Linked DNA regions of Homo sapiens: all the other regions are linked to region 1. Evidence: promoter capture Hi-C in 16 types of primary human blood cells and fetal thymus (Javierre and others, 2016). All regions are on one chromosome and are shown on one strand. Each heading gives the region's core, a stretch centred on a gene start or on the middle of the fragment in contact. The rest is flanking DNA. Distances are from core to core; before and after follow the strand shown. Region 1 holds the start of SYT7 (synaptotagmin 7). Region 2 holds the start of TMEM132A (transmembrane protein 132A). Region 3 has its middle 25 kb from the start of SCGB1D1.

What was found. Contacts are between HindIII fragments. The CHiCAGO score rates a contact against its expected background, and 5 or more counts as called.
Region 2: a contact is called between the fragment with the promoter of TMEM132A here and the fragment with the promoter of SYT7 in region 1, in 2 of 17 cell types (erythroblasts and activated CD4 T cells). The highest score is 6.3, in erythroblasts.
Region 3: a fragment that was not itself captured here is called in contact with the fragment with the promoter of SYT7 in region 1 in 1 of 17 cell types (erythroblasts); the score reaches 5.6 in erythroblasts.

The regions. Positions count from the first base shown.
Region 1 is chr11:61,578,729-61,583,131 of GRCh38, reverse strand. It overlaps SYT7 (synaptotagmin 7), which reads left to right and starts at 2,056. Exons shown (of 13, transcript NM_001365809.2): 1 at 2,056-2,342. The coding sequence starts at 2,312. LOC105369331 (a long non-coding RNA gene) reads left to right here. Exons shown (of 5, transcript XR_950166.3): 4 at 487-536; 5 at 1,139-1,726. RefSeq lists silencers at 1,606-1,765, 1,776-1,925, 1,946-2,035. The HindIII fragment of the contact is 6,758 bases long and covers 1-4,403 here.
Region 2 is chr11:60,923,029-60,927,431 of GRCh38, reverse strand. It overlaps TMEM132A (transmembrane protein 132A), which reads right to left and starts at 2,972. Exons shown (of 11, transcript NM_178031.3): 1 at 2,699-2,972; 2 at 14-228. The coding sequence starts at 2,798. It overlaps TMEM109 (transmembrane protein 109), which reads right to left. Exons shown (of 4, transcript NM_024092.3): 4 at 3,989-4,403. LOC124902676 (a long non-coding RNA gene) reads left to right here and starts at 2,035. Exons shown (of 2, transcript XR_007062688.1): 1 at 2,035-2,213. RefSeq lists silencers at 2,327-2,396, 2,437-2,656, 2,717-3,076. The HindIII fragment of the contact is 2,439 bases long and covers 731-3,169 here.
Region 3 is chr11:62,163,435-62,167,837 of GRCh38, reverse strand. No RefSeq gene overlaps it. Among named protein-coding and RNA genes, the nearest start is that of SCGB1D1, 25 kb to the left of the region's middle. The HindIII fragment of the contact is 3,257 bases long and covers 209-3,465 here.

The sequences.
Region 1 (4,403 bases), core at 807-3,306:
TCGCAGCCTCCCGAGTAGCTGAGACCCCAGGGGCGCACCACTACACTGGGCTAATTTTTTTTTTCTTTGTAGATATGGGGTCTCACCATGTTGCTCAGGCTGGTCTCAACTCCTGGGCTCAAGTGATCTTCCCGCCCCGTCATCCCAAAGTGCTGGGCTTACAGGTGTGAGCTACCATACCCAGCCCCTGTTTACTCTTTACTAGGGTAATGAGAGAGGCAGCTGGGGTGGGTGGGGGAATGAGCCAAGGTTGCAGACCTTGCAGTCCCAGCCTGTTGGCTTAGCTTTCTGGGGTTTGCCAGGTCCCAAAGCAGAGTGTAGATAACTCCTGGGTTCTTGGCTGTACTTGGGTGAGTGGGGGGAAGACAGCTGTGAGGTGTATGGAATAGGATGGCCCTTCCCCAGAGGGTGAGGGCTGAGATTTCTGGCCACTGAGGAATTGTGGCCTTAACCTACGATGCCTTTTTTCCTTCCATTTTTATGTAGAACATTCATTCCCAGGAAATCTGCTCTCCACTGGAACAGTCTTCATGGAGGTTTGCTGGGGGAACTTCCTTATCTTTTTCTCAACCGGAAAAGCTGTAGGTGGAGGTGAATGTGTATGTGTGTATGTGTGTGTGTGGTGGTTGTTGGGGATAGCCTCCATGTGATTTCAAGGGGATGGGGTCTGTTTGTGTGTGTGTCGGGGAGACTTGAGATAGAGGGTTGTTCCTGGCTGCCTTCCACACTGTGGGCAGGTGGAGGTGTGGCTGGGCATGAGTAGTGCAGTATAAAGCCAGCAAAAGTGGATTTCTCAGGGTGGAAATAATAATCCTTGACTCTAGGAAGCCTGGCTCACCTGCAAACTGCATTCTCAGCACAGGGGAGGGCAGGATGCTGCCACAGACCCAGGGATTTTGCCCTCTTACCTGACCCATCAGTGAAGGGTAGGGGCAGCACCTGTATTGTGGGGAGCGTCAGTGTATGTGTCTCTTTGTGTGGGCAGCATGTCTGTGTGGGTGTGTGTGTGGGGGGCATCATGTCTGTGTGTGTGTGTGTGTGTGTGTATGTAGGTGATTACGTGTGTAGGTGTGTGCAGGGAGGTCTCTGTGCCTACCATACCACTAATGGTTCATTTCTGGGTTTTTCTTATCCTTAGGAGACAGGTCTCTTCTCCTCCCTGCCCCAGAATCAAATCATCCAAATTCTGTAGAGAAATGAGTGTTCACCTGATTTAGACTGTGCTGAGCCGGCAGAGAGGCAGAGGGGACCAAGAGAGGTCCAGGGTTGGAAGGAGAAGGAGGGATTTCCTTCCTACCCTCCGAAGTGCTAGGGTCAAGGAATAGAGGGGAGGATCAGAGGAGGAGCTGCTGCTATAGAGGGATAGCCAGAGGCTGAAAAGTCTATTTTCTTCTTTCGTGGGGCTGGGTTAGGTGAGGAGGGTCACTAGGCCAAACCTCCTACCGAGGGCAGGGATCTTAGCCCTTTCGGCTCCACCTGTGTGCGAGCTTGCAGAAAGACCGGACTGGCGGACCCAGGCTCAGCGCTGCCAAAAATTCCACTCCTGGTTTTTGCACACACCAGTCCGTCTGCCCCGGACCGCCGCGGTGTTGAGTCCGGAGCTGACGCCCTCGAGCCGCCAGCAAGCGGAAAACCCGGAGTGGATCTCCACGCCTTTTGGATCGGAGCCAAAGGGCACCTCGGAGGAGGTGGCCGGCTCTGCGGCCCTGCCCGGTGCCAGGCCGCGGCCATCGGGGGAGCACGGGCTGGGGGTGGGTCGCGCAGCGGAGCCGGATCCCCTGGCCGGACGAGCCCGGCCGTGGGGCTCGGCGGCCCTCCCCGCGGGGACTGCGAGGCGGGCGGGGCGCGGGGCGGCGGCCGTGCCCTCGGGGCGGCTTCGGGCGGCGGCGGGCGCGGGTGCAGTGCGGCGCGCGGCCGGCAGCGGGCGCAGGCGGTGGCTGTGGCCGCGGCGTTCGGCGGCTGGCGGGCGGCGCCGGCGGTGCCCCGGGCGCGCTCACACACGCGCTCACACACACACATACACACGGCCTCGTACACACACACACGCTCCGGCGCGCACACGCGGCGCGCAGGCCGGAGGGAGGCGGCTCGGCGCTGTTCGGCGGCGGCGGCAGCGTGCTCCGCGGGCGGGCGGGAGGGCTGGCGGGCGGCCCCCGCTCCCCGGCTCCGCGGCTAGGTGCAGCCCGCTCGGCCCCCGCCCTCGGACCCGCCCCCGGGGGTCGCCCGGCCCCATGCCCAGCGGCGGCGGCGGAGCAGCGCGCGGCCGCGGGCGGCTCTGAGGAGCCCGGAGGGAACCGGCGACGAGGGGACCATGTACCGGGACCCGGAGGCGGCCAGCCCAGGTAAGCGCGGCCCCGGCGGGCTGGGGCGCCCCGCACCGGCGGGCAGGACAGCGGCAGCGCCGGACGCCGTCTCGGAGCCCCAGCCTGGGGCTGTTGTCCGCCCGGAGCCGCACGGGCTCCCCCAGGGGTCATCCCAGCCCCGGGGGCGCGGGATCGAGCGGCAGCGGCTCGGACCCCGGTCCCCCGCAGTCTGGACACTGCCAGGCTGGATGTCTGGGACCGGCTTCGCAGTGTCCCCACAAGGACCTCTCCCCCACCCCTCAACAGCCCAAGGACAACGTGTGTGGCGGAGCGAGGAGCCGCTGCCCCTGTGGGAGCCGGGCAGTGCCCTCAGAGGCACCCGAGGCTCCCCAGCACCGGTGCCCCGGGGGTGCCAGCGCTGGCGGACCCCAGGGCGAGGATCCCGGCAGCTCTTGGCCAAGGTTGCGGGCACAGGGGAGCGGAGTGGCATCGCAGTGCCAACTGTGAATTGAGAGGGTGCCAGGGGGCAAGTGGGAATCTGGTGCGGCAGCTGGGCAGGGAGGTTCTGGGGGGTGGGGAACTGCAGGGGCGTTGATGGGTGAGACGGGGGTGCCTGAAGGGAAAGAGAGCAGGGGCTCATGAGAATGGGGGTGCCAAGAGAATGTTCTCCTAGGTTTGGGGAGGGGGAAGCAAACAACCCCAAACTCTCTCCCGTCCTGGGGTGGGGGAGGGCCGAACTCCTTTGCCTTCTGCTTCGCCCGCCAGGGGAGTGGCCTGGGAGCCCACTGTCTGCTTGGTATCCTCTAAGCCAAAGCCGAAGAATCTTCCCGTCTTCCTCGGAAATTGCTCTGCCATTTCCTCCTTGGCTCCTGATGCCTCCTCACCCAGTGCCCACCTGTAGGCAGGTCCCCTGCAGCTCCTGCCCAGGCTCCATCCCCGCTCCCACCTGGGGTGCTCCACCCAGTCCCAGCACCCCCAGTCTGCCAGTTCTGGCATCAGGGTCTGTTTCTGGGCTTCTCTCTGATGCTAAAAGCACGACTCCCCAGCCCAGGATGTGCTCCCAAACGAAGAGCCTCCAGGCTCCCTCCTGCCAGCCTCCTGGGGGCGGCGGTGCTGTAGGGAAGGAAGGGCTCTAAGACCCTGCACAGAAGGAGCCTGCAGCCCTGAGGCTCCTGAAGGCAGTCCAGTGGGTGCTGGCTTTGCCCACTGTTGCCCTAGCCCCACATTTGCTCTTTCCCCTCTAGGGGCAGCCTCAGCCTGTCCCTGCCTCCTGAGGAATCGGCTCCCACCCCCCATCGATTCTTTTCAGTCCAGTCGATATTGAGGACGACCCACTGGGCGCCAGGCACTGCCCTCACTCAGCACTTGGATATGAGGGTGAGAGATTCAGTCTCCTTCTCTGGAACCTTGCGCCCTTCTCTGAATGTCCTCTAGGTGAGGGCTGAAGGGGCATTGCCTGTGGAGAGCCCTCCCCTCATCTGTCTGGACCTAGGTCACCTACCCTGGCATCTTCGTCGAAGAGGCCGCCGGCTTCCAGCCCATGGCCCGTGGCAGGAGTATTCTCTTGCTCTGCTCACCTTCTTAGAAGCCAGTAGCTTAGTTCAGAAGCCAGCTCTGGGGTATGAGGATGGAAGGTAGGGAAGAAATAAGGACACTATCCATCCCCTCGCCCACCAGGCTGGCAGCCTCCCCTCTGGCCTGTTAGGCCACTGGCCTGGGGCTGTGCCCTCTCCCCTCTCCCTCCCTCCTCTTTCCTCCCATGCCTGGGCACCATGACATCACCACTCCTCCAAGCACCTCTGCCCTCACCACGGAGGCCAGCTTGACGTGCTTGGCATCTTCTAGGCAAAGGGTCTGGAGTCCAGTACCATCCCTGGTGTGCTGGCAGCCCTCAACTCTTCCCTCACCCCCTCCTTGAATGGGCCTCTCTGGCTGCAGTTGGGACCTGTCTTGCCCACCCCAGTTGCAGCTGCGGGACCCACCAGTGCCTGTGGTAGGGCAGCTGTGACTGGGAAAGGGGCTGGCCTGAGGCTGACTCCTCTCCGGTGTGGGCATTGGGCTGGGTGGGGTCAGACATAGGCTGGAGAGGGCACAGTCTGC
Region 2 (4,403 bases), core at 1,723-4,222, 660 kb after region 1:
GCCCCCTCCTTACCTGCTGAGTGGCAAAAGGTGGGTAGGAGGCCCGGAGAAGTGGCTGGGCCCTGGGCCAGGGCTGTAGGAGCAGAAAGGTCTCAGATCGGGAGCTCAGAGAGGAGTTGGCAGGTGGGTAGTGGCCCACCTGCTGCACACGGAAGTGTTCAGGGGCGTCTAGGAGCTCCAGGGCTGCCGGCAGGTAGACAGGGTCCAGGGGAGCCTGGCCACAGTCCACTGAAGAGGCATAAGAGGGAGAGATGATGACAGCTCCAGAGCTGGCAGGGGCTGACCCGGGTGCCATGCTGGGGCACAGTAGTTGTGGGCAAGGGAGGGAGAAAAGGGCTGTAAATGTCCCTTCCCCTCTCACCACCATTTCACAGATGAGGTCACTGAGGCTTAAAGAGCCTCACACAGGTAGTATGTAGCAAAGCCAGGATTCGAATCTGAGTCCAGGACTGGATGCTTCCCAGCTATTCCTTCTACTTTCCACAGACCTTGGCCTTCTTCTCGCCAACAGCCTTCTCAATGTCTCCTTTTCCCCAACTCCTGCCCTCCATCTACTCGCCTCTGATACCAAGGCACTTCTGGGGTGCAACCGTCGGCAGACTGGGCCAGTGTAGTAAAATATGGTAATGAAGTGAGCTTTCTCTGCCCTGAATCCTTGGCCAGGCTCTGCTGGGCATCCACCCCTCCTCCCCCATCATTGCCATGGCAACCTGCACCATCTTTCCAAGCTTGCTCCCTTCTTCCCTGAACCGACTGGTATCGAGTGCAAGTGTGGGATGGGCGGGCGCGGAAGGTGCTGAAGAGGTCTGTGAAGGCACTTGCTTGCCCTGGGGGTGGGGTGGGGACCAGGAGCCTGGGGAAGACAGTCAAAATAGTCAATCATCAGAAGGACAAAGGAGCACTAAGCCATATTGGTTTGCTCTAACTATGAGCACTAATAATAATAATTAGCATTTTGTGAATGCTATATGCAGGTGAGAATTTAAATACTGTATGTATATGAACTCTTTGAGTCTTTGTAATAATTCTGTGAACCAGGTTCTATTATGATGAATCCCATTTTGTGGATGTAGAAAATGAGGCCGAGAGGTTAAGGTATTTGCCTGTGGTTCCACAGCTGGAGAGTGAAGGAGCTGGGGGTTGATCCCAGGTATTAGCCACTAGACCATCCGGCGTCTCCACCTGCCACTTCTCTCTCCACTCTCCACTGCCACGGTGCACCCTGCAGGCTTCATGCCCTGGAGCGCACCTCCTCTCCTCTGCTCTGCCCGGTGGCACCTCCCTCCTCATTCAGGGCCATGAGTGAATACTGCCTCCTTCTGAAGGAAGCCCTCCTTGGTTACTCACCTTCCCACCAGTCTCCTGTCTTTTGCAACCCTGGGTGCCTCCTCTGAATTAGTAATCTTCCTATAAACAAGGGACCCTGTCTTGCTCATCCTGGAATTCCCCCAAACTAGGAAGCGCTCCCTAGAGAGGATTTCCTGGGAGCCTGGAGACCTGAATTTAAATTGATGAAACTTGGGTCAGGCATTAACATTTTGAAGCCTGTTTCCTCACTTGTAAAAGGGGCAGGAGCATTAGGTGGCACTGTGGACAGGACAGGGCTGTGTAAACTGTGGAGTGCTGTCTGGAGGGAGCAGGCATTATTGCTGCTGCATAATGGATTTGACAAGGTTTTCCTCCTCTCTCTATTAGGACTCCCATGGCGTCCCTCGGGATGGGGAGCAGGTGGCTGAAAGCAACCCCACAGCTAGCTCCCTCTCAGCCCCACAGCTGGACTGTGGGTGGGGGTGGGGGAATTGGTTTCAACCTCCTTCCTGGCCCTCCCCACCAAGGAGCATATGACTGACAGGCTCTCCCTGCCCCCTGCCCCAAGCGTAACAAGTGACCACTGCTCTCTGGGGGCAGCCACTGGCTTCAGGTTCGCCTCCTACTCCATTGCCTCCATAATTACAAGATGCTCTTAGCCTGACTCCCACGGACTCCCATCACCCAGCGCTCGGCTCTCTCGGTGGGGAGGGCAGAGAATGTTTCACTGTCCCTCTGTCTTCTGTGGCATCCTTTGCCTTGCAGCCACAGCCCAGCTAGCCCAGGCCAAGGGAGTCCGACCCCCACCCCGAAGCACAGGGAAGTTGCTGCCCTTTCCCGCAGTGACAGGAATCCTCTCAAAGGTTCTGGAAGGCAAGGATGCGGCCATCCCTGGAGACGCCAAGGTCAGGGAGCCCTGGGGGAAGGGGGAGGGAGGGCTTGCGTCTGTTGCAGGTCCCAGGCAAAGGGGCTGCTTTCCACTCCCGAGGGGGGTGGGTTGGTGGCGGCGGAAGGAGGCTAGGAGGGTGCAGCGCTACAGACCACAGTGAGGGAGTGGGGATGACGCTAGTGCGCCCGGGACCGGGGCCGCCGGGTTCGATGCCCGGGCTGAGGGGTCCCTCGCAGAAGGTGCGGGACGGGGAAGCCCCTGCGCCGGGCTGCCCCGGGTCAGGAAGGAGTTGCCGGGTCGTGCAAGGTGAAGGAAGCCTTAGGGGCGAGTGGCTGGGGGCAGGTTCCCGAGGGCAAGAACTCTCCGACCTTCAGGGCGCTGCGGGGCGACCCCGCTCAGGGTTCAGTCCGAGAACCCAAAGGTTGGTGGCTCCCGGGCATCACTCGCTCCCACTCGGCCGGGCCCGGCCGCCCCTCGCCCCGGCCCTCCCCTCCCGCTGACCTCTCACGACGTCCAGGGCGAGGGCCACCAGGAGGCAGAGCCAGGGGCCGTAGGGCCCCCGAGGGGCCGCTGTTGTGCGACCGGCCATCCGCGCGCACATCCTTCCCACAGAAGGCGGGGACGAGGCGGGCGGCTCAGGTGGCCCCAGTCCCGCACGGCATCTCCCGCACCCGCTCCGCGCCGTCCCCACCTGGCCCGCTGGGTCCCGGCCGCCGCCGCCGCCGCCGCCGCCCGCCCCGCGGCTGCAATTCCCAGACAATGGAGCGGGAGCAGTGGGGTGGGAGGGAGCGAATCGCAGCACATGGGCTGCCCCCTCCGCCCCGCCGGGTCCTAGTGCCCTACGGATCCCCAATCCCTGCGCGCTCAGGCGACCGAGGTCGGGAAGAGGGCCACGTCCCTGGAAGCAACAGAGGACGGCCGCCTCTGCCAGGAGGGACTCGGTGAGTTCTGTGTGGCTCCCTCACGGAAGCTTCTGATCAGGGAAGAAAAAGCCACTTTCTCTGCCTCACCCACCCCCACAAGCAGCTCACTTGTGAAGGCATCTGACACCTGAGTCAGAACCAGAATTCAGGGACACATGGGACGGGAGCTGCAGGGACAGGAAAGGAGGGAGGGGGTCAAACGGGGCCAGATGCCAACCACCTGAGCCTGCCCTGACAGAGCTAGGCCACCGCCGTGGAGGAAGGGCTCTAGGTGCAGGCAGCTCTAGTCTCTTGACCAGCTCCACCTGGGCAGCGTCCTGCAGCGCTTAGGAGGGTTGAGGGTTGCCCAACACTCCCGAGGGAAGGCCAGCCTCAAGGGTCCTGACCCAGTGTTGCCTACCAGGCAGTTTGGGGAGAGGCCCAGAGCAGGGGCCCCAGCTGCACACTCTCATGCCCTGGGCAGCTTACAAAGAAAAAATTATGTCTGAGGCCCTCCGCAAAATTGGTCCAGCCTGTGGGCCGACTGGAAACCTTGGCACAGGAAAGTCCTCAGGTGGGTGGTGAAGGGGAGGGCAGGCAAGTCTTCTCCAGGCTGCCCACCCACCTCAGCACACTGCAGGGAAGGGGTGACCCCTCTGCCCAGCAAGCACACGCATTTCCAGCAGTGCCAGTCGTTCCTACGTTTTGTAATGGGGGCATGCTTTCCTAATTCCTTGTGCTCCTGGAGGGAAGGGTACCTGGTACCAGCCTGCCTTTTCAGCTCTCCCCTCTGCCAGCTTCACACTGCCCCCACAGGGAGAAATTGGGAGGCGGAGCTGCACTACAGAAATGGGTTTAGCAGTAGAGGAGACATGGAAGCAATCCAGACTTGGAGTAAATACATTTTATTCAGAACAAGATAATAAAATAGCGTGCACTTTATTTAAAACCAACCAAGCACTGATAAAAAATATATATCACTGCAGCTGTGATTCCACATCAAACCTGAACAGTAAGAATTGGGCATTTATTCTTCACATCATGTGCCAAGCCTGGCAGAGAAGGACATCCACCTCCACTAGAGCCTCAAAGGAAAAGTGGCCCCTAACCACCAAGACAGGGTACCCTGGTGGAGAGGGGCAGCTGGCAGCTCACCCTGCTCTCTGCAGACCACGTGAAGGGAAAGGAGCTGCCTGTGTTCCTCCCGGGCTGCCGGGGTGGGCACTGGTCAGCAACTCCTTCTCGGTTTCAGGTTGTGGAGCGATGGGGAGAGAAGTGCATGCAGTTGTGCAGACAAGGAGGCG
Region 3 (4,403 bases), core at 588-3,087, 580 kb before region 1:
ACTTGCTGGGCTCATGGGGTCAAGTCTTTTCCCATCCATCCAGACACAGATACCTGGATATCAGCATCTTGCTGCACAGGTGGGCTCATGCTCTGTGTGCATTGTTCCCTGGACAAGGCACAATGGCCATTCCCCCATCATGATAAATGTGCCTAACTCTTTTCTTCCCACCTCCATGTGCAAAAAGGTAGTTGAGTCAAGCAAAGCTTCTTTGAGGGCTCCAGAGCTGACTTCCCAGCTGCTACTGGTCCTTTTGGGTCCTCTCCCAGTGTTGAGACTCCTGATTTCAAGGACCCTGATTTCAAGGGTGCTGATTTTGAGGGTCTGAAGAAGTTCAAAGAGGAGGTGGATATCCAGCCAGCTAAGCAGAAAACAGCAACAGTCAACGGTAGTGAGCCCCTCTCTGCCCTTCTCTCTAACAGTGACATCCTGAGTCAGGGCTCAGTCCTGGGCAGAACGAGAGTCCTGGGCAGTTCCCAAGAGGAACTGGCCTGGAGGCCCAAAGGGCGGGATATCCACTTCACTGTGCCTTATCAATGTGCAGCTCAGGTATGAGAATCTGGTCATTAGGGCCTGACCAGTAAAGTTCCCAATATCCAAAGTTACAGAGCCCCGAAAGTCCCCCAGCTGCCTAGAGGTGCTTAGCAAAAAGTAAAAATAATACAACTCTGTGTTTGACCCTCACGTACTCTACAGCTCCTTTGGCCACTCCCTTTCTCTGCCAAACCCCAGGACCCTGTGTACCCCTGCTGTTCTCCCTGTCCCACCAGATCTCCCCTGGCCTCACAGGAACCTGACAAAAGGGAAGTGAGACAGGACAGATATGAAGAAAATGTGAAGTGATGGTTATTTTACACCTAGGCATCAAGAGACACAGTCGTTTGCTCAGCAGGTGGGATTTCTCCACATAGGCGGCAAGGAGAAACAATGCCGGGGTCCAGCATCAGAGACAAAGCTGGCAGAATTCACCTGCCCAGACCCCTCCTGCCTCCTGTTTCCCATTGGCCAAAGTTCACCCCATGAACTTCAATTCCCTGCACTTCTGGGACATGTCATCTGTACAGCTCCATCAGTGATACCAGATCCCACGTCCTGCGGCCAGGGACCAGAAACCCCGGGTGGGAAATAGCAGTCTGGGAGAGGGCCCTACTTTGCCAGGGCAAGGACTGGGAAGTCCCCACTGGCATCAGAAAAGTCTGGGTGCTTTTGGCCAACAAGAGGCAATGGAGGGAAGCCTCTTAACATTTCTGATGTCTTGACATGCGTCGTAGCAGGCTTGCCTTAGAGCAACACCTTCGAAGTCCAGTGGAGCTTCCTGCCCGACTGCACACTCCACACAACCTTGGGCTTGAGGTTGCTTTAACTCTTTGAGTGTCACTTTCCAGAGACTTAAAATGAAGATGAAGATAATATCACCCCTCAATCAGCAAATGCGATTGAAGGTTATGGCCAACGCAACTCAACTCGCCCAGTGCCTCACACACAGTAGGCACTTTGCGATTAAAGGTTGTCATCCATATTCCCAGACTATTCCCCGGGAAGTGGTTAGACAGAGCTGGACAACAAACCCCATCTCCTTGGCCCTGACACAGGGAGTGGCAAAAGGAGCTGTAGAGTCCACATCAGGGCCAAACACAGATTTTTATTATTTTTATTTTTTGCTAAGTGACTCCAGGCAGGTGGCGGACAATTAGGGGAGGTCCCTGTTGTAATTCCCAGCCCTGCCCTCCTACCCGAGGAATGAGAGAGGATTCCCTGCATTGCAGTCTGCATGTTGACCTCATGTAGACTAACACGCCTTAGTCTACTGGAGGGAGACAGAGAACACCCTGCATTCTCTGCCCGAGTCACTCTCCTCAATCTGCTTCAGTAGAACGTGAGACACAACTGTTGAAGGCCAGCAGCCCCTGGTCCCGAGCGCGGCAGTGCCACAGTGGATGCTCTCCCACCTGAGCCCTCGGACTGGGCCTCAGTGGGTCCTGCTCCCACAAGTGTCACTGTCTCAATCCGGAGAGTGGAGCTCGTAGGAACAGGACCTCATTGCCACATTTTCTTGGCCCCTTTCATTAAAAACACTGCAATCACCTTCATGGTAAGGCTCCTCCCTGTGGAGGTCTCCTACAGAAGTAGGTGAGGACTGGTTGCTGGGATTGAAGAGAGTGGCATGGTAGCTGAGGATAATAAGGGGTACTGGGGTAAGACGGAGAGGTTTGGGGGCCACACAAGTTGTCCATCTAGGGAACGTAGAGGTCACCTAGATCAAGCCAGTGTTGCCCAAGTAGCAAAAAAAAAGAAAAAAGAAAAAAAAAGTCTGGTCTTTTTTAGCCCCGAGAGGTGTCTTTGATGAAATTCTGACCAGATGAAGCCACCATCACTGCCCTGGGCTTACACATTACCTACATACCCTAAATCAATCACTGTCTGTTTTCTGTCTTTCTCTAAGCCATAGAGCCTGCTCTCTATCTGTTAAGTCTAGGGCCATCACAAACATGCAAACAATGACACTGTAAGATAACTTGGGCCAGGTGCAGTCACTCAAGCCTGTAATCCCAGCACTTTGGGAGGCGGAGGGTAGGTAGATCACCTGAGGTCAGGAGTTCGAGACCAGCCTGGCCGACAAACATGGAGAAACCCCATCTCTACTGAAAACACAAAAATTAGCCAGGCATGGTGGCGGATGCCTGTAAGCCCAGCTACTCGGGAGGCTGAGGCAGGAGAATAGCTTGAACTCAGGAGGCAGAGGTTGCAGTGAGCCGAGATCATGCCACTGCACTCCAGCCTGGGTGACAGAGCGAGACTCCTTCTCAAAAAACAAACAAACAAACTAACAAAACAAAACAAAACAAAACAAAACAAAAAACACCACATAAGATAACTGGGGCAGAAGGCCTCTAGCCCCTAGCCCCTAGCCCCTTTCCCTACCATTCCCGCAGTAGTGGCTGCACCCCTCCAGTCCTTTCTGCTGCACCCCCAGCACCTCTGGGGCACTTTCTGAGTTAAATAATTAGTTATAGGAGTCCTCACTGGGCATAATCCATACTTGTCTTATTACAGTGTCCCAGGGGCAAGTAGGACAGGAGCCCTGCAGAGGGCTCCTGCCTCTGTTATTCTCAAATCACAACTCAAAGACACTAAACACATTCCTCAAGATCCCTTACTCCAATTCTCAAGGACCAATTCCCCACTCAACCAATCCTGCCAGGCCAGGGGCAGAGCTGGCAGGAAGAATAGAGATCCAAAAAAAAAAAAAACCGTCATAGCTTTCATGGGTTATTAGCTCCTGTTCTTTTATAGGAGCTCCTATTAGCTCCTATTCTTTTATAGGTAGAATAGTTCACCTGAAATTAATCTGATACTATCAACTTTCCTATATCATAATAGCAGAGGAATGGGCATATTTAAAGTGCAAATTAATACAGGTAGGGGTATGTGTGTGTGTATCTGTGGGCAAGTAAGATTAAAGCTTCATGGATCAGGCAACCAAACCTGAGTCAAAGTATCCATCTTCATGTCAGCTGTTTCAGGCTTAATAAACTGCAATAAAAGCAAATACCCCCACAAAGGAATGACTACTTAAAAGGCACTTTAAAAGCCCCCCTGGCCGGGTGTGGTGGCTCACACCTGTAATCCCAGCACTTTGGGAGTCCGAGGTGGGTGGATCACCTGAGGTCGCGAGTTCGAGACCAGTCAGGCCAACATGGTGAAACCCCATCTCTACTAAAAATACAAAATTATCCAGGCATGGTGGTATGTGCCTGTAATCCCAGCTACTAGGGAGGCTGAGACAGGAAAATCACTTGAACTCGGGAGGCGGAGGTTGCAGTGAGCTGAGATTGCACCATTGCACTCCAGTCTGGGCAACAAGAGTGAAACTCTGTCTCAGAAAGGAAAAAAACAAAAACAAAAAAGAACTCCCCTTTGCAAGCTGTAGTTTACTTCCTCCTTCCAGCATGCAGGGTAGATCTCTTTGGTTGAGAACATTCAAAATTACTGGACAGGAGTGGGGATGTGGTTGGGGTTGGCCATGTAAGTTACTTTCTACTTTGCTGGCTCAGAGCAGTGAGCACTGTAAGGAGTACAGAGCAGGTGCTTCAGGCATCAGGTAACTCAGCTTAGCTCTGAGTGCTGCTACCCAGGTTTCTATAGATGTCCAAGGAAGCCTCAGAATCAAGCTCCAAGAGGTTCAGATAGGAGAATAACCTGCGATCTGCATTGTTTGCAATCCCTTGGAATACAGGTTACAGCCCACTTTCCTTCTCATGCCTGCTCTTTCTTCTTTCTTAAACCTGGAGGAATGTTTGCACCATGGAAGCCCAGAGGGAAGAAAGGCTGCTATGGGTCTTGCCCCCGCAGAACTCAGCCAGCAGCCACAGTTGCTCAGTAGCAAGTGGTACCCACAGTTC